7 separate regions of the Homo sapiens genome follow, and all the other regions are linked to region 4. The links are contacts of gene promoters, found by promoter capture Hi-C in blood cells and fetal thymus (Javierre and others, 2016). All regions are on one chromosome and are shown on one strand. Each heading gives the region's core, a stretch centred on a gene start or on the middle of the fragment in contact. The rest is flanking DNA. Distances are from core to core; before and after follow the strand shown.

Region 1 (2,700 bases), core at 183-2,682, 1.2 Mb before region 4:
AAAAAAACTAGACAGCTTAACAATTGAACCTAAAACAAGTAAAAATATATCCACTTGTCTATCTTTTAAGGCAGGGTTTTTCATTGGGTATAGTTTCTAGTTGCAGTTTCAAGTTGTCTTACTTGCATCAGCCTACATAATTATTTTGCTTTAATTTAAAAAGTTAACACATTTCCTTTTTTTTTCTTTTTTGTTTCTTTTTTTTTTTTTTTTTTTTTTTGAGACGGAGTCGGAGTCTCACTCTGTCGCCCAGGCTGGAGTGCGGTGGCGCGATCTCGGTTCACTGCAAGCTCCGCCTCCCGGTTTCATGCCATTTCTCGCCTCAGCCTCCCGAGTAGCTGGGACTACACGCGCCCGCCGCCACACCCGGCTAATTTTTTTGTATTTTTAGTACAGACGGGGTTTCACCGTGTTAGCCAGGATGGTCTCGATCTCCTGACCTCGTGATCCACTCACCTCGGCCTCCCAAAGTGCTGGGATTACAGGCATGAGCCACCGCGCCCGGCCTAAAAGTTAACACATTTAATTGTTTATTTCAAAATCTTGGGGAAAACAATTTTAAGAATAGATGTAGATTATGTTTTAGGAACAGACTGTCCACAATCTTAATATGAAAGCCATATAATTTTCATGTGTATGTATGCATTGTTTGAAGCTTCTGACAACTTGATACTAAAAAAACAAGTTTCTTTCAATCAAATTCCTATAAAGGTTTTCTGACATCACTGTACCACATGTAATTAATCAAATGTTTTCTTATTGTCATAACTTCTTTTGTCGATTAAATGTTATCTGTTAATACCCATTCTCTATGATCAATTATCACTTGAGTGCTAGAACGCCTCTTGGAGCTACAATCTTTCAAGTGACTCCTTCTTTCCACATACCTTGGCATTTTCTCCCTCAAGTCTTAAATCCCTTTTTTGCAGTAGAAATGCTCCAGAGCTTTTAGTATTTCCCTCAGTGGTATACTGTGTATACTGCCACACTGAATGTGACCCTATATTATTCTCCAATATCCTTGGAAAATATTATTCCGTTTATTTTGAGAAATCTCAGACTTCCCAATGATGCTTTTAATATTGACATGATTACTATCCAACTCATCTTTTTGCTGCTGTCATAGTGTAGGTTGGGGTGGTTCTGTTTAACTTAAACCTTTATATTTCAACCCTGATGTTTATCTTTATCCCTGGGATGGGTTTTGAGAATTACTCTGTGACATTCACTTTTAGATATTTGAAAGCAGCTTTGCTTCATTGCAAAGTTACTCTCAAAAGCTGACAAGAAAGGCAATGCTAGTTCTTTAAGTTCTGGTGCTGTCAATACTCTAGGGATTGTTCTTTCACTGATTTGTATTTGTACTTGATTTTGTGCTGTGATTCTGGCAGGGAAATCACAGTGCTTTTGTTGTATGTGTATAATCTGGCAGTGCTTTTGTTGTATGTGTATAATCACATGCAAATTCTAGGGATGCCCTGAACTCTAAGTAAGCGGTAAAGGTCAGGCTCTACATGACTTGCTTAGCAATGGATGTTTAGAAGTTTGGTATACTTGCAGTTTTTCAGGTGGTTAATTCTAAAGTCCACTTAAAACCAATGCTGTTTTGCTATGAACAGTAAAACAGGCTACATTTTAAGTTGATTTATATAGATATTTTAACATTTAAGAACAATACTATACATCTTAATATTCACTTTTAAGATTAAAGATAAACTCATGAATACTTATAAAGTATTCACTATCATTCTAGCTAAGATCGGTGTTATAGTAGAAGGTAGTTATTTCTGTCAAAATACTTCGAGAGCCTACGCTGACTCAAAGATTACATGTTCTAGACTGACCATCTCCGGATAACCTCTATTTTAAGTGGACTCTGTCAAGCAATTCCTCTTCTTAAGCTCTGGTAGGAGAGCCAGGCTCGAGTACCCTTGGAAATGAGAGAAGCCTGGTTTGCTTTCTTTCATTATGAAAAACCCGGATCAAGGCATGTTTTTCAGCTGCTTCGAGGATGGTTTATTCTGGCAGGTGGAGGAGAGAAACTCTATACACACATAAGCATTTAGGGCACGACAAAGATGTCAACAGAATGAAGAGCCAAGTACAATTCTTCCCCTCACCGCCCAGTTCCCCGTCCTGCCGGGAAGAGCGCGGAGAAGCGACTTAAAGGTACAGGCTGTCTACACCCCCGCTGGCTAAAAAAGCTTGCAAATCAATCTTTTAAAATGGTTTATTGTGTTTTCCTCCATTCCTCAATAATCTGAGAGTGATGAGAAGACTAGACTGTTACTGTGGGTTTATTACAGCCAGCCATAGTCGTACAATGGGATATTTAATTTAAACACCCACAAGGCACTCAGCACAGCACACTGTCCTGTGCGGATTGCTGCTCGCCACTTCCAGGAATACCTTCCCACCCAGACCAAGGAAGGCAGCTCAGTCCAGCGCCTCCTGTCCCGCCCCGCCCCGCCCCAAGGGGAGGTGCCCAGCTCTCCCCGCCCCTCGCCCTCGCCCTCGCCCCGCCCCGTCGCGTAACCCGGATACACACCCACGCTCCCCTTTCACCTCGCGGCCGTAGGCTAACGTGGAAGTCGGACCAGCCGGCCGGCGGAAGAACCTAGAGCGCGCTGCCTGGCGAGTCAGGCGCGCGGGGCGGCGTTGGTGGTCTTCGCGGCGCAACTCGGCCTTTCCTGGGAGGGA
Region 2 (2,700 bases), core at 144-2,643, 1.8 Mb after region 4:
CCGTTCCCCCCAACTGGTCTTCCTCCTTCCAGCCTAGGCAACCACTAATCTTTCTGTCTCTATAGGTTTGCCTGTTCTGGAGTTTTCATATAAATGGAATCATACAGTATCTGACCTTTGATGTCTGGCTTCTGTCACTTAGCTTAATGTTTTCAGGATTCATCCATGTTGCAGTTTATGTCAGAATTTTCAGGCCTTTTTATGGCTGAATAATATTCAGTTGCATGGATATTTCACATGTTGTTTATCCATTTGTCAGGTGATGCGTTTAGACTTTTTTGGCTGTTATGTATCACACTGCTATGCGTGTTTATATACAAGTTTGTGTGAGCATATGTTTTTGTTGTTCTTGTGTAGATACCTGGGAATGGTATTGCTGGTTTATGTGGTAACTGTGTGTTTAACATTTTGAGGACCTGCCAGACTCTTTTCTCCAGCCACCATACCATTTTATATCCCTAGTAGCAGTAAACGAGGGGTCCAGTTTCTCTGCATCCTTGCAAACACTTGTTGTTGTTTGTTTTTGATTATAGCTATTGTAGTGGGTGTAGTGGTATTTCATTGTAGCTTTAATTTTTATTTCCATAATGTCTAAGGATGTTGAATATCTTTTCATGTGCTTGTTGGTTATTTTTATATCTTATTCGGAGAAATGTCTATCCAGATCCTTTGCCCGTTTTTAAATTGGATTGTCTTTTTTTTTTTAATCGAGTTGTAATAGTTCTTTATATATTCCAAATACAAGTCGCTTATCAGACATAGAGTTTGCAAATATTGTCTCTTTTTCTGTGAATTATCTTTTTGCTTTCTCGATGGTGTTCATTGAAGCACAAAAGTTTTAAATTTTGATATATTCTATTTTTTCTTTGATTGCTTGCGCCTTAGGTGTCATATCCAAGAAACCATTCCCTAATCCAAGGTCATGAAGCTTTACTCCTGTTCATATTGAGTTAATTTTTATGTGTGGTATAAGGAAGAGGTTCAGGTTTATTCTTTTACATGTGGATGTCTAGTTGTTCCAGCACCATTTGTTAAAAAGAATATTCTTTTCTCCAATGAATTGTCTTGATATCCTTATCTAAAATCAGTTGATGAAAAATGTAGGAATTTATTTCTGGAGTCTTAAATTTATCCCATTGATCTGCGCGTCCATCCTTTTGCCAGTACTATGCTATCTTGGTTACTATAGGGAATTGTGAGTGCTCCAACTTTGTTCTTCTTTTTCAAGATTGTTTTGGCTGTTTTGGGTCCTTTGCATTTCTGTATGGACTTTAGGGTACGCTTGTCAATTTCTACACTAAAGGCAGATGGGATTCTGATAGGCATTGCATTGAGTCAGTAGTTCGACTTGATTAGTATTGCAGTCTTAACATTTAAGTCTTCCGGTCTATCGACATGAGATTTAAAAATTTTGTTTGGGTCATCTTTAATTTCTTTCAAAAATGTTTTATAGTAGCTGTGTGTTTCTTTTATATATGTGTGTTTTAAATGTATGTTTTACATATGTGTTTTATAGTAGCTGTACAGTAGCTATATGTTTTTTACCTTAAGATTTAGTGGCTACCTTGAGATCATCTTGGCAAAAACTCATGAGTGATCACAAAGGAGACTTTTCTTCTGGAGCACACCAAATCTGCTTGTTTCCTGTGATGTTAACAGTGTCTCTTGATCTCAGTACTCATTCCTTTCTGCTTTTCCATCAGTGTGCAGCTGACCCCTAAGGCTGCTTAATGCACTCTCCACCTTTCCAAGGTAATGTCTTTCTTTCTGTATACCTGATGTTCTATAGAAATCATAGGCAAAGGCACATATTTTATCTGCTAGAGTTTCACGATGTATAGTTTGTCCTGAAAGCTTTCATTAGTCCTGCAGTCAAGAAAACAGTTATAATCCCACAATTCCTAAGGTCACTTGAGCACAGAATACTTTCGTATAACCTATCTATTACATCTTGTAAGTCTTAGCATACCAATTTTAGGAAAAATCTCTAGGGAATTCATAGAGTCAACTTCAGACTTGCTTATCCAAGTAAATAGCTTCATAATCTTTTCCTCTACTTTTTTTTTTTTTCATTTTTTCCATGGTACCCCCAAAGGAAAAAAGAAAAACTTATTTCAAATCTTTGTTTTTCATTCTACCTCAGCAGCTTCATTTCTTTTTTTTCTTTTTTTTTTTGAGACGGAGTCTTGTTCTGTTACCCAGGCTGGAGTGCAGTGGTGCAATCTCGGCTCACTGCAACCTCTACCTCCCGGGTTCAAGCAATTCTCCTGCCTTAGTCTCCCAAGTAGCTGGGACTACAGGTGCGTGCCACCATGCCCAGCTAATTTTTTGTACTTTTTAAAGATGGGGTTTCACCGTGTCAGCCAGGATGGTCTTAATCTCCCGACCTCGTGATCCACCCACCTCGGCCTCCCAGAGTGCTGGGATTACAGGCGTGAGCCACCATACCCGCCCTTTTTTTTTCTTTTTGGAGACAGTCTTGCTCTGTCGCCCAGGCTGGAAGCTGGAGCGCAGTGGTGTGATCGTGGCTCGCTGCAACTTCTGCCTTCTGGGTTCAAGTGATTCTTCTGTCTCAGCCTCCCGAGTAGCTGGGACTACAGGCGCTTGCCACCACGCCCAGCTAATTTGTTTTTTGTTTGTTTGTTTGTTTTTTGTTTTTTTTTTTTAGTAGAGACAGTTTTACTATATTGGCCAGGCTGG
Region 3 (2,700 bases), core at 116-2,615, 1.1 Mb after region 4:
GGTATGTTTTTTTTTTTTTTTTGAGATGGAGTCTCACTCTGTCGCCCAGGCTGGAGTGCAGTGGCGCGATCTCGGCTCACTGCAACCTCCACCTCCTGGGTTCAAGTGATTCTCCTGTCTCAGCCTCCCAAGTAGCTGAGATTACAGGTGCACAACACCATGCCTGGCTAATCTTTTGTATTTTAGTAGAGACAGGGTTTCACTGTGTTGCCGAGGCTCGTCTCGAACTCACAAGCTCAGGCAATCCACCTGCCAAAAGATATTTTCATACATTCAAGAATCAAAAAAGAACTCCCATGCACCCCTTATTATAAACTATAAGAGAATTTTCTCCACCTAAACTGAGGCCTAAACTAAGATTTCAATAAACAAGACATTCAATATAGAGAGGAAAAGGAGATTCCCAGGATGTTGCTGAGGGATAGCTCAGGATGACAACTGCACAGCTGACCTGGATTGAAGCAGTTCACGTCGGATGAGGAGGGAGCTGGGTAGAGGAGTTGGGAAGGGACTTCCCCAAGGAATGCCTTCAAGAAAAATAATGTCCCCAAGGGAAAAAAATAGAATAGATGTGCACTTTTATGCTGACAGAGTCAGCCCTGGGGAAGAGTTCAGTAATAAATGGTAGTCCATTTTTAATCCAAGGAAAACAAAAAATAGTTCAAAAAAGAAAATGTAGTCAGGATACACTAAAAGGCTCAGCTGAGGAAAATATTTACATATTTACATGGTTATTAATGAAAGCCCTGTAATTTAATAAAAAAAATTATATTGGCAGAGATATGAAGTGGGAGGCTGAAGGTGAAATGTCAATACACAAAATCTAAAATTGAAAAAAAAAGCAGTATGTCTCTAAATACAGAAATAAACAGCAGAAAAACAGCTAAATATTTTCAAGAAAGATGCCTCTGGAGTGGGAATTAGGCATGTACAGGGTCAGAAAGTGGTCTATTTTTTATTTTGAGCTATGCACTTCTGATTAAAACTAGTTATAAATGTATAACTTTGATAAGAAATAAAAATGCAAATGGAAGAGTTCACCATTGAAAAAGTAAAACTTCTATGCTGGATAGCCTGCCAGTGCAGGTCTACTGTGTGGTTCTGGCTCTTAATGCCTAGGTGGTCAGCTGTATGCAGAGACTTGTCCAGCTAGGCACTCACTGTGGACCCCTTTCCTAACCCACTCAGGACCACCCAGGAGTTCAATCAGTCCTATCGAGCTATTACATAGCACTCTACATACTTTGACATTTCATGACAACCAGATATTTCATGAGACTCTATCTGTTGATCCAGATGAGGTCCACAAGTTCCTAGCAGGATACCGAACAGGGCATACAAGGCTAACCTCAACATCAACCTGCTGAAGGAAGAGCACCAGACAATCTCCATAATGCTATGCTACACCATGCCTCCTGGAAGGGTGACAGGACAGAGCCCATTGTGCAGACTGGTGCAAACTAATAGGTGAACAGGGAGAAAGTAAGCAAAGGCATAAAATAACAAATCTAGAGAACTTTCTCTTGGTCCTAGTTATTCTTCATATAATGTCTTTTTGACTGAGAATTTCCACTAACAGACCTATATTGAAATATATGTCTAAAACAAACTCCAATGTCATTTAAATGACATGAAATTATTCTTTTGGATTCTCTATACCACATCCATGAGAATAAATGGGATACATATGTATGCAAGTGTGTTTTTTGTTTTTGTTTTTTGAGAGGGAGTTTTGCTCTTGCCGCCCAGGCTGGGGTACAGTGGCGTAATCTCAGCTCACTGCTACCTCCACCTACCGGGTTCAAGAGACTCTCCTGCCTCAGCCTCCCGAGTAGCTAGGATTACAGGCGCCCACGACCAGGCCCAGCTAATTTTTATATTTTTAGTAAAGAACGGGTTTCACCATGTTGGCCAGGCTGGTCTTGAACTCCTGACCTCAGGTGATCCACCTGCCTTGGCCTCCCAAAGTGCTGGGATTACAGGCGTGAGCCACCATGCACAGCCAACTGTTGTGATTTTTATGATGGTTTCTTTCTAATTTGGTCTTGAGGTTTTTCTTGAGAGTGGCCATAAGCTCCAGCCTTGCCCTTGCCAGAAATTCAAAGGATTTTGTTGTGGATGTTGACAGTGCGCCTTCCATGGGATGCCTCTTTATCCTGAAGGATGCCTATTGCCTAAGTGTCTGACCCATGACTAGGTGTCCCTCTCACAACAAACTGTTTTTTCAGGCAGACACCCTTGTGGGTCTTGCCTGACCTGTATCCAGATTATTCCTGTCAAGACAGCCACTCTCTAAGATAGCTCTGACCAAAAAGAAGGCTACGTTAAGAGCATCTATGCCAAATGAGACACAATGAAGTGAAATGGAAATGCGCAAAACATAAGTGTTTATTATTCACAGTTCCCAGAAAGGTTAGGGGTGCCAACAGAAAGAGGCAGCAGGGAGCTCAATCAGCAAGGGGTCAGTGGGGAGGAGAGGAAGAGGGAGAAAGGGAAGGAGGGAGGTTGTGAGACAGAACTTTTGGGAGAGAGGGACGGGGAAATCTCTGGGACTGTGTATGCCTTTATTAAGCTCTGTGGACATTATCCCTTAGGCTTTCTTGTGGGGGTTGTAGATGGGCTAATTTAAAGAAATAAGTTCCCCTCTTCCCTCCTGAAGGGGTGAACCTATTTATGTGACTCTGGTGTTGACCGTTACAT
Region 4 (2,700 bases), core at 41-2,540:
ACAGAATGTCTTGTACCTCAGTGCCTACCAGCATACTTGATATACAAGAGCACAAAAAACATTTTCTGAATGATTGTATGACTACATGCATGCCTGACTAAAAAGGCGACAATACTTTTTACATTAAATTTAACAAGTTTAACTTCTTTTTGCGTTTTCAAATTACTCCACAAAATTACACGAGAAAAATGAATTCCTTCAAACTTAAATCCTACTATATTAAACTATATTAAAAGTCTATCACATAAAATTCACTTCCACAAGGATTTAACTCTAACAAAATAAGCATGTGAGATTAAATATACCCGTTATAGAGATGAAAAAAAGGTTCAAGTGGTTTAACTCACGCATTTAATATAAAGGAAACAATTCCTAGAATTCAAGTCTCTTGGCGGTATTATTCCTGCATACTAGCTATTTTTCATGTGGGGCAATTTTTACCTGATTCAAAGATTTCCCCAAAATAAAGATATCACAAAAACTGATGTAAATATGGTTAAGTCTTTTATCTCAACTAGTTTGAAGTTTTAATTATGTGCATTTGGGCTTAAGTAGATTTTTAGGTTTAAAAAAAGACGTTAACCAAAGCAAGTCACTCAACTTTAAACTTTCACTTTATGACATCATATCTACTAGAGATTTCATTTTACATGTCGCTTTCCCCCAATTTTTAAATGTCCCCTCGATTTACAAATATGAGATGACATATAGCACCTACGACATTTTTTCATAGCAGCCTACCAAGTAGATGTAGTCCTTCACATAAAAATAATGGCAGTGGGCGACCACTCCGTCATGTCTGAGGGTTTTGTTTTTCTTAAACATCACCGTGCCCAAGGGTCAGATGTTCTGGCTGCTTTCAGGGATCAATTACAACCACGTTTGCAATACCTACATTTCTGGGTAATGACTGTGCTAGAACATGAAGAGATTCTCTTTTCTACTTACTCCACAAATGCCCTGGAGCAAAGGCACAGTATCTTACAATCCTCCCGCTCCTCAATGAAGAGAAACATTTCCGCCACGCGGCTCCACTTCTCGCAGCACATTTTACCACTTCGGAGGCAGCTCTGACGTACGCAGCCCGGGTCGCGCCTGCCGGGCCTCCGCTCGGTTACTGGAGACTTAAAACAGGCCTCGCCCGCAAGCCCTGGATGAGGAGATAGAAACTGGCCCGCGGCCGCTCGCGCCGGGAACTAGCCCGGACGCTGCCGCCGGAAGTGGCTCCGAGGGGCCACGGGAAGGGGCGGGACCACGGGCGGTGTCACCCCCATCGCGGCCCGGGCTGCAGCCGCCGCTTGGCTTCTTTCACACGGGTTGCTTCGGAGGAATCCGCCGTGCAAATCTGTCCGCCCCCTTGGCCACTGATCCCCCGAAGAGCTTCTGTCGCCGCTCTAGGGTAAAGGAGAGCTGCCCCTGCCCCTGCCCCCGCCTATCCGAGGTGCGTCGGCCCCCGCGCTTCTCCAGCCCGGCATCGGGTCTGGCGGGACTGGGAGCGGCGGAGGCCGCGCGCGTCCGGTCTCCCAGGAGCCGCCTCGGAATCCCCAGTCTCTTCGCGGGCAGGCTCGGCTTCCCGCCGGCCTCAGTGTTGCGCCCCAGCGCCAGAGTGGCCGGGTGTGGAGATCCTCCCTCCTCTGGGTCAAAGAGCCTGCTCTCCCCGCCCCTCTTCTCCCCTGGCGCTCTAAACCTTCGGTTCGGCGCGTTTCATCCTAATGCATCTGGTGGGGCGAGGCGTCTCTAGCCTCTGTAGAGGCCTCTAGGCTTGCCCAGTGGCTTCGCTGGTTCCGGGACCCAGGTCGAGCCTCCGGTGTAAAAGCCAAGGGGAAGTGTGTGGTGATCCCGAGAGTGTAGGGGGAAAGCCGCGTGGGTAGAGCGTTCGTATCCAGACCGATCAGGCTTGGAATCCTGGTCCTACCTTGTGACCTGGGCAGGCAACTTCACCTTTCTGAGCTTACCTTTGATCACCTGTGAAATGGGGTTGATTAATAGTAACTACTACATGAGGCTGCAGGGAGGACTAAACGAAATGATGTATATTACACCTTTCCTTTGTGCGCTTAATCGTTGGCGTCGGTTTGGACCTTGTAGGCGTTAAGTGCTGTCTCGGTCCCTGGGGTTTGCAGCCTGTAAAACAGGTCTCTGCCTTCAAGTTACTAATTATCTAATAAGAAAAAAGTTCATGTGGGCATAAATAGGATGGAGAAAATGGAAACAGCAGCGTTGCTGGATCTGTTAAAAAGCAGTTAGTATTTGGTGTGTGGTATTCATGGAGGCTGCACGGGCAACTTCTTCAGAGACAAGCTCAGACTTGAAAGTTGGAGCGCTTCGGACGTGGTTGGTGCTACGAAATGCCAAAATAGTATTGGTACTTCTTCAGAACTATATAAAAACTGAGCTAAAATTCATGCATTTTGAATGGTATTTTCAATAGTATTTTGGCCACATTTACTAGTTAGTGGAAATATTCATTTTCAAATGTTTATTCCCACCTCCTTACTGCTGCCCTACTTTGAGGTCGGAGATAGGCTGATTTTGTTGGTTCAAGAAGGTAAGAGTGCTGCACGGTTACAGATATACCAGTATAGATGTGCAGCATTATTGGGATGAGTAGCTGGGTTACGATAATAAGGGTAGAACAGTAATTATGAAACAGAGTGGAAGATTTTAGCTAGAAGTTGGGCATTCTAGGATTAAAGAAAA
Region 5 (2,700 bases), core at 142-2,641, 1.7 Mb after region 4:
AACGACTAAATTTTCTTTAAAATGAACCATTGGGGCCGGGCGCGGTGGCTCACACCTGTAATCCCAGCACTTTGGGAGGCCGAGGTGGGTAGTTCACTTGATGTCAAGAGTTCGACACCAGCTTGGCCAATATGGTGAAACCCCATCTCTACTAAAAATATAAAAATTACCCGGGTGTGGTGGTGCATGCCTGTAATCCCAGCTGCTAGGGAGGCTGAGAGAAGAGAATCACTTGAACCTGGGAGGCAGAGGCTTCAGTGAGCCAAGATTGCACGACTGCACTCCAGCCTGGGCCACAGAGTGAGACTCAAAAAAAAAAAAAATGCCATTAGGCTAGATTTTTGTTTGTTTGTTTGGAGACAGGGTCTGCTGTGTTGCCCTGGCTGGAGGGCAGTGGCGTGATCTTGACTCACTGCAACCTCCACCTTCTGGGTTCCTGGGTCTCCCGAGTAGCTGGGACTACAGTTGCTTGCCACCATGCCAGCTAATTTTTGTATTTTTAGTAGAGACAGAGTTTTGCCATGTTGGTTACGCTGGTCTCGAACTCCTGACCTCAAATGATCCACCCACCTGAGCCTCCCAAAGTGCTGGGATTACAGGCGTGAGCCACCACTTAAAAGTGATTCCTATTTTTTGCCTAATAAGTCGAGTTATGTAATACAAACTTTGTATGGAGTTACAGAAAAGGTTGCAGCACTCTTTCTGGCAATCCAGTGGTCCTGTGAAAATGATGAACTTATTTTACCAAATGAAACTCGAATAGCAGAATCTCTATTTTATGGCCAAACCTTTCTTGATGTTGCAAGTCAGGGAGAAGGTTGCTATCCTCTAACTTTGCCAATAATGAGCACTTCTATGCCTGAATGATTAGTTCAAGCAAAAAAAAAAAAACTTCAGTCTAGGCAGATTCCACAGACTGAAGCTAAAAGTAAAAATGGTGAAGACTATTAGGATCAAAAATACCAAGAACATCCATTACATCTTGACCAAAAGTTAAGTTTATATTAAAAAAGTATCCTTCTTTTTAACCTGTTGTGATAAAAGAAAAAACAAAGGTCTCCAGTTCTGAAATTATTTGGTGGGATAATGCTAAGGAAAGGCTGACTCTAGATTGGTTCCATGAGTGCATGATGAAACTTCGAACCTGTCAGCCTGACAAGTGGCAATTTAATACTTAAGATATTGTAGTCTCCCCTTACCTGCAGTTTTGCTTCCCATGGTTTCAGTTACCCGTGGTTAACTGTGGTTTGAAAATACTAAATGAAAAATTCCAGAAATACTTTATAAGTTTAAAATTGTACACCATTCTTTTTTATTTATTTTATTATTATTTTTTGAGATGGAGTCTCACTCTGTCACCCAGGCTGGAGTGCAGTGGCACGATCTCGGCTCCCTTCAACCTCTGCCACTCGGGTTCAAGTGATTCTTGTGCCTCGGCCTCCGGCGTAGCTGAGATTACAGGCGCGTGCTACCACGTCCAGCTAATTTTTTTGTATTTTTAGTAGAGATGGGGTTTTGCCATGTTGGCCAGGGTGGTCTTGAACTCCTGACCTCTAGTGATCCACCCACCTCGGCCTCCCGCAGTGCTGGGATTACAGGCATGAGCCACCATGCCTGGCCTGAATTGTACACCATTCTGAGTATTGTGATGAAATCTCATTCCGTCTCACCCAGGACACGAATCATTCCTTTACCTAGCGTATCCATGCTATATCCATTCACCATCTGTTAGTCACTTGGTAGCCATCTGGGTTATCAGGTCAACTGTTTTGGTATTGTTTTGCTTTTTTTTTTGAGACAGAGTCTTGCTCTGTCACCCAGGCTGGAATGCAGTGACACAATCATGGCTCACTGCAACCTCCACTCTCCAGGTTCAAGCAACTCTCCTGCCTCAGCCTCCTGAGTAGCTGGGACTACAGGCGTGCACCACCACACCCGGCTAATTTTTGTATTTTTAGTAGAGACGGGGTTTCATCATGTTGGCCAGGCCAGTCTGGAACTCTTGACCTCAAGCGATCTGCCCGCCTTGGCCTCCCAAAGTGCTGGGAATACAGGCATGAGCCACCTCGCCCAGCCTGTAGTGCTTTTATCCAAATAAGCCTTACATTGCTTAATGATGGCCCCAAAGTGCAAGAGAAGTGATGTTGTCATATTGTTATAATTGTTTTATTATTGTTAATCTCTTCCTATGTCTAATTTACACAATAAACTTTATCACAAGCATTATGTATAGGAAAAAACATAGTATATATAGGGTTTGGTGTTATCCATGGATTCAGGCATCCACTAGGGGTTTTAGAGCATCCCCCACTGTTTATTTCTGGAATTTTCCATGTAATATTTTCGAACCACAGTTGACTGTGGGCAGCTGAAACCATGGAAAACAAAACTGTGGGTGAGAAGGACTAGGGTATTTTAAACATTATATAATCACAGAAAAGTTATCCCATTAAATTTAACATTTAGTATTATCTAATATATTATGCATTCAACCTTTGCCAGATTGTTCCATTAATATCCTTTATAGCTATCTCCTCCCTAGTCATACATTATATTTAGTTATCACGTCTCTTTAGTCTCTTTTGTCTCTTTTAATCTGGAACAATTCCCTAGATTTTCTTTTGTCTTTCACGACATTGACACTTCTGCAGAGAACAGGCTAGTCCTTTAATTTGGGTTTGTGTATTTACTCATGATTAG
Region 6 (2,700 bases), core at 78-2,577, 1.6 Mb after region 4:
ACAAACTACAAAAACAGACTCAAGAAGAGTAGAAAATCACAGAAAAAAAGAGAAATAAAAAAGAATAGAAAATCTGAAAAGATGTATAACAAGAGAATTATTAATCAAAAACTTCCCACAAAGAATAGCCCAGGGTCAGATGACTTCACTGGTGAATTCTACCAAATATTTAAAGAATTAATGCCAATTCTTCAAAAATTCTTCAAAAAAAAAAAGAGGAGGAAACACTTCGAAATCATTCTATTTGCCTAGTATAACACTGATACCAAAGACATCACAAAAAACTACAAATATATTTTAAATGATACATGCAAAACTCAACAAAATACAAGCAATCCAAATTCAGCAACATATAAAAGAGGATTATATACTATGACCAAGTGGAATTTATCCCAGGTATACAAGGTTGGTTTAATATCTGAAAATCTATCAATGTAATACACCAAATTAATAGAATAAAAGACAAAAACACATACTGATAAGAGATAGCCCATGTTCATGGATTAGACGACTTTTTTTTTTGAGACATGGTCTCACTTTGTCACTCAAGGTGGAGTACAGTGGCACAATCATGGCTCACTGCAGCCTCAACCTCCAGGGCTCAAGGGATTCACCTTAGCCTCTGCCTGTCCCTCAGGTACCTGAGACTATAGGCATGTTCCACCAGCTAATTTTTTATTTTTTACTTTTTTGTAAAGATGGAGTTTCACTATGTTGCCTAGGCTGGTCCCAAACCCCTGGGCTTAAGTGATCCTCCCACTTTGGTCTCCCAAAGTGCTGGAATTACAGAAGTGAGCCACCATGTCTGGCTAGAAGACTTAGTATTGTTAAAATAGCCATATTCTCTGAATTGATCTACAAATTTAAAGCTTGCATTTATCAAAATGCAAGCTGCCATTTTTGCAGAAATTGGCAAGGTGATTCTCAAATTTGTATGGAAATTCAAGGGGCCCAGAGGAGTCAAAACCATCTTGAAAAAGAAGAATAAGGCTAGGATTTCTTATTTTCAAAACTTACTACAAAACTACAGTAATCAAGACTGTATAAGACTTTATGTATCAAGTGTATAAAGTTAGACATATATAGCTCAATGGCACTTATGGCCAACTGATTTTCTACAAAGATACAAGACAATTCAATGGGAACAGAATATTTCTTTTCAGTAAATGTTGCTGGGACAACTTGATACCACATGCAAAAGAATAAAGTTGGACTCTTGCCTCACATCACATACAAACATTAACTCAAAAGTATTAAATGCTCAAATGAAAAGCTAAAGCTAGAAAACAGAGAATTTTAAGACCTAGGAGTAAATCTGCATGACTTAGCATTAGGTAATCATAACTTAGATGTGACAACAAAACCACAGGCAAAAAAAAAAAAGAAAAAATAGATAATTTAGACTTCATTGAAATTAAAAACTTTTGTTTATTAAAAGACACTGTCAAGAAAGTGAAAAGACAATACACAGAATGAGAGAAAATATTTGCAAATAATATATATAATAAGGATCTAGTATCCAGAATACATAAATATTATTATAATTCAATAAAAAGACAAATGGTACCATTTTAAAATAGGCAAAGGACCGGAAAAGACATTTATCCAAAGAAAACATACAAGTGGCAAATAAGTTCATGAAAGTGATTATCAATACCGTTAATTACTAGGGAAATGCAAATCAAAACCACAATGAAATACCACTCCACACCCACTAGAAAGGCTACAATCAAAAAGACAGACAATAATAAATCTTGGCAAAGATATGGAAAAATTGGAAGCTTCATGAGCGGCTGGCAGGAATGTAAAATGGTGCAGCCACTGTGGAGAACAGTTTGGCTGTTCCTCAAAAAGTTAAACATGGAATTACCATGTGTATTAGTCCGTTTTCACACTGCTGATAAAGACATACCTGAGACTGGGAAGAAAAAGAGGTTTAATTGGACTTACAGTTCCACATGGTTGGGGAGGCCTCAGAATTATGGTGGGAGGCAAAAGGCACTTCTTGCGTGGCAAGGGGCAAGAGAAAAATGAGGAAGAAGCAAAAGCGGAAACCCCTGATAAACCCGTCAGATCTTGTGAGACTTATTCACCACCACGAGAATAGCATGGGAAAGACCGGCCCCCATGATTCAATTACCTCCCTCTGGTGCCCTCCCACAATACGTGGGAATTCTGGGAGATACAATTCAAATTGAGATTTTGGTGGGGACACCGCCAAACCATATCATTCCACCCTTGGCCCCTCCAAATCTTATGTCCTCACATTTCAAAACCAATCATACCTTCCCAACAGTCCCCCAAAGTCTTATTTCAGCATTAACCCGAAAGTCCACAGCCCAAAGTCTCATCTGAGACAAGGCAAGTCCCTTCCGCCTATGAGCCTGTAAAATCAGAAGCAAGCTAGTTACTTCCTAGATACAATGGGGGTACAGGTATTGGGTAAATACAGCCATTCCAAATGGGAGAAATGGGCCAAAACAAAGGGGTTACAGGGCCCATGCAAGTCTGAAATCCAGCAGGGCAGTCACATTTTAAAGCTCCAAAATGATCTCCTTTGACTCCAGGTCTCGCATCCAGGTCACGCTGATGCAAGAGGTGGGTTCCCATGGTCTTGGACAGCTCCCTCCCTGTGGCTTTGCAGGGTACAGCCTCCCTCCTGGCTGCCTTCATGGGCTGGCATTGAGTACCTGCATCTTT
Region 7 (2,700 bases), core at 62-2,561, 1.8 Mb after region 4:
AATCAATAATAAAAAGATAATTTAAAAATGAAACAAAATAGGGAAACGATCCCAATACTTCTCCCCCAAATGAGTGAGTCATAACCAGGAAAAACCTGTCATCTCAGTATAGAAAGAACATTATTAGGCGGTGTATTTTGATGAATGATAGTTACGTGGTGTGGGAGTTATACCTGCAAATAGCATGAGTTGGTCGTGAAGGGTTTAAGTGGGGAAAGACTTTTTGGAGGAGCCTGCATTCTCCACTATGAACCCTGTCACAACTTAAGTCACCTTCCTCTCTGATCCTCAGAAGCTGGTGGGATGCCTTGTGTAATTTCTGACCAGAAGGTTTCCGTCAACTGTTCTTCAACTATTCAAAATGCCATGCCCAAGACTGGTTCTTAGTACTCCAGGAGCTCACGAACGATTTCACCTTTATTTATTTTTTATTTTTTTTGAGACGGAGTTTCGCTCTTGTCGCCCAGGCTAGAATGCAATGGCAGTCTCGGCTCACCGCAACTTCCGCCTCCCGGGTTCAAACGATTCTCCTGCCTCAGCCTCCCGAGTGGCTGGGATCACAGGCCATGACGCCCGGCTAATTTTGTATTTTTAGTAGTGACGATGTTTCTCCATGTTGGTCAGGCTGGTCTCGAACTCCTCACCTCAGTTGATCCGCCCGCCTCGGCCTCCCAAAGTGCTGGGATTACAGGCATGAGCCACCGCGCCCGGCCGATTTTTTTTAAAAAAAGGAACGCTTAGCCGGGTGCAGTGGCTCAGGTCTGTAATCGCAGCACTTTGGGAGGCCGAGGCGGGCGGATCACTAGGTCAAGAGATCAAAACCATCCTGGCCAACATGGTGAAACCCTGTCTCTACTAAAAATACAAAAAATTAGCAGGGCGTGGTGGCGGGCGCCTGTAGTCCCAGCTACTCGGGAAACTAAAGCAGGAGAATCGCTTGAACCCGGGGGGGGGAGCTTGCAGTGAGTGGAGATCGCGCCACTGTACTCCAGCCAGGCGACAGAACGAGGCTCCGTCTCAAAAAAAAAGGAACTCTTAAAACGAGTAACTCCGTAACCTAACTTAGAGGACACGGGTTCCATTTTTCCCCGTAGCAGTCTCCTATGGAGAAAGTGCTTGGCTTCCCACAGACTTTAAAACCTGCCAAAGTTCCATGCTCGGAATCTGCCCCCGTTTCGAGATACTTGGGCCTCCGCGAGTTCTAAAACTCCGGGATGTCCCGATGCAATAGGGGGCCGAAAACCCGCCCCGTGAGGGGGCGGGACCGGAGGTGAACGCGCAGCAAAACCGGGCGCCTTCCACGACCCTCTAGCCGGAAGCCACGCCTGCCCACTAGCCCGACGCCCGCCTGGCGGGAACATGGGCTCGCCCCTCACCAGCGATCTGCAGTCAGTTGGTAGCGCCTGCACGTCGCGCGCGGTGTTCGATTGTCGCTGCCTGGGGAGGAGGAGCCGGAGCCGCCGCCGCCGCCGCCGCCGCCGCGGGCTTCGTTCGTAAGGAAGGGGGCCTAGGCCCGGGCCTGCGGTGGTGGGGGTTGCTGCGCGCCGGGGGTCGCTCCTGCTGTGTCTTCCGCTCCAGCTTCGCCCACTTCCCCTTGCCAGCGGGGTGGGCGCGGAGAAGACCTGCCGGAGCCATGGAGGACGAAGTGGTCCGCTTTGCCAAGAAGATGGACAAGATGGTGCAGAAGAAGAACGCGGTGAGCGCGGCGAGCGGCGCGGGCCGGGAGGGAGGCCGGGCCGCGGTCCGGCCCGAGGGGGCCGCCCCCTCCCTCCTTCTCCCTCCCCTCCCCCTGCAGCCTCCCGTCTGGGAGCCGGGCCCGCCGCGCCCGCGTCCCCGGGGAGGGTGTCCGGGCCCGGGGCGTCGGGTCCCGCGGCAACCTGCGTTAGGACCCGCTCGCTCTTGTATTTCCAGTCCCTGCTCGCTGGTGCCGTGTAATAAACCTAATCGATTTAGGGATTAGGGCACGCTCTCCGTTGACTTTAAACTTTCGTGCTAGTAAAACCTTGGCAATTTAGCTTAGGAATTGAAGCGTAGAAAGTCCTCAGAACTTGAAAGAATGGAGTCTTCCGTGATCCGTGGCCAACATCTAGAAAGAGCATCAAATAGAGGCTTGTGATCGGTATTAGACATCGGGCTGGTAAAATGTAAAACTTCTGTGTCTTATTTTTGAAGAGGGCTGAACGTCCGCCTGGTTATCTCAACTGTGCTACATGTTTGCTTAGCGATTAAAAAGGTAAAGTGTGCCAGTTTCTTGGCGAGTTGCTAAACGTTTTATAAAAAGCGGGTTTTGTCCTGTCGTAATGTACAGAAGAGTTAGGACTACAGCACGCACACTCACCGGAATGCTGGTAGAGGGATTTGGACAAATTATATTGTTGGGTATTTTCTAAGTGGTTTACAGTTAATACTGGTGGCATTTTTTTTGTTATTGATGAATATTCATGTAAGCATATGCTTTTGTGGTTTGTAAGAAATCCTCATACGACCAGTTTCTACAGCTTGCCCATTTGTGTGGCACTTTCAGTCCCTTGCTTCAGACTCATCTGTTCTTAGCTAAACATATTTTTTCGAGACGGAGTTTAACTCTTGTTGCACAAGCTGGAGTGCAATGGCTTGATCTCGGCTCACTGCAACCTCCGCCTCTCGGGTTCAAGTGATTCTCCTGCCTCAGCCTCCCGAGTAGCTGGGATTACAGACGTG

What was found. The method cuts DNA at HindIII sites, captures the fragments that hold promoters and counts their contacts. A CHiCAGO score of 5 or more calls a contact.
Region 1: a contact is called between a fragment that was not itself captured here and the fragment with the promoter of TMEM68 in region 4, in 3 of 17 cell types (total B cells, non-activated CD4 T cells and naive CD8 T cells). The highest score is 8.5, in total B cells.
Region 2: a fragment that was not itself captured here is called in contact with the fragment with the promoter of TMEM68 in region 4 in 1 of 17 cell types (total CD8 T cells); the score reaches 5.4 in total CD8 T cells.
Region 3: a fragment that was not itself captured here is called in contact with the fragment with the promoter of TMEM68 in region 4 in 1 of 17 cell types (naive B cells); the score reaches 5.6 in naive B cells.
Region 5: a contact is called between a fragment that was not itself captured here and the fragment with the promoter of TMEM68 in region 4, in 3 of 17 cell types (non-activated CD4 T cells, activated CD4 T cells and total CD8 T cells). The highest score is 10.6, in non-activated CD4 T cells.
Region 6: a contact is called between a fragment that was not itself captured here and the fragment with the promoter of TMEM68 in region 4, in 3 of 17 cell types (total CD8 T cells, M2 macrophages and activated CD4 T cells). The highest score is 7.5, in total CD8 T cells.
Region 7: a contact is called between the fragment with the promoter of TCEA1 here and the fragment with the promoter of TMEM68 in region 4, in 1 of 17 cell types (non-activated CD4 T cells). The highest score is 5.1, in non-activated CD4 T cells.

The regions. Positions count from the first base shown.
Region 1 is chr8:56,993,731-56,996,430 of GRCh38, reverse strand. It overlaps BPNT2 (3'(2'), 5'-bisphosphate nucleotidase 2), which reads left to right and starts at 2,564. Exons shown (of 5, transcript NM_017813.5): 1 at 2,564-2,700. RefSeq lists a silencer at 2,448-2,700. The HindIII fragment of the contact is 1,549 bases long and covers 658-2,206 here.
Region 2 is chr8:54,001,944-54,004,643 of GRCh38, reverse strand. The region is part of intron 13 of LYPLA1-TCEA1 (LYPLA1-TCEA1 readthrough); the gene reads left to right. The region is part of intron 2 of TCEA1 (transcription elongation factor A1); the gene reads left to right. Among named protein-coding and RNA genes, the nearest start is that of TCEA1, 19 kb to the left of the region's middle. The HindIII fragment of the contact is 926 bases long and covers 931-1,856 here.
Region 3 is chr8:54,635,760-54,638,459 of GRCh38, reverse strand. It overlaps a transcript of RP1 not described here. Among named protein-coding and RNA genes, the nearest start is that of RP1, 21 kb to the right of the region's middle. The HindIII fragment of the contact is 2,868 bases long and covers 1-2,700 here.
Region 4 is chr8:55,771,968-55,774,667 of GRCh38, reverse strand. It overlaps TMEM68 (transmembrane protein 68), which reads left to right and starts at 1,290. Exons shown (of 8, transcript NM_001286657.2): 1 at 1,290-1,399. It overlaps TGS1 (trimethylguanosine synthase 1), which reads right to left and starts at 1,222. Exons shown (of 13, transcript NM_024831.8): 1 at 949-1,222. The coding sequence starts at 1,049. RefSeq lists enhancers at 784-1,113, 1,885-2,388 and silencers at 1,254-1,443, 1,534-1,663. The HindIII fragment of the contact is 10,724 bases long and covers 1-2,700 here.
Region 5 is chr8:54,097,317-54,100,016 of GRCh38, reverse strand. All of the region lies in intron 2 of LYPLA1-TCEA1 (LYPLA1-TCEA1 readthrough), which reads left to right. All of the region lies in intron 2 of LYPLA1 (lysophospholipase 1), which reads left to right. Among named protein-coding and RNA genes, the nearest start is that of LYPLA1, 3.3 kb to the left of the region's middle. The HindIII fragment of the contact is 3,061 bases long and covers 1-2,700 here.
Region 6 is chr8:54,161,416-54,164,115 of GRCh38, reverse strand. No RefSeq gene overlaps it. Among named protein-coding and RNA genes, the nearest start is that of MRPL15, 28 kb to the right of the region's middle. The HindIII fragment of the contact is 912 bases long and covers 872-1,783 here.
Region 7 is chr8:54,021,059-54,023,758 of GRCh38, reverse strand. TCEA1 (transcription elongation factor A1) reads left to right here and starts at 1,311. Exons shown (of 10, transcript NM_006756.4): 1 at 1,311-1,696. The coding sequence starts at 1,634. All of the region lies in intron 12 of LYPLA1-TCEA1 (LYPLA1-TCEA1 readthrough), which reads left to right. It overlaps LOC133039971 (Uncharacterized LOC133039971), which reads right to left and starts at 1,726. Exons shown (of 3, transcript NR_189620.1): 1 at 1,377-1,726. RefSeq lists silencers at 258-565, 1,693-1,862 and enhancers at 1-778, 1,373-1,522, 779-1,572. The HindIII fragment of the contact is 35,827 bases long and covers 1-2,700 here.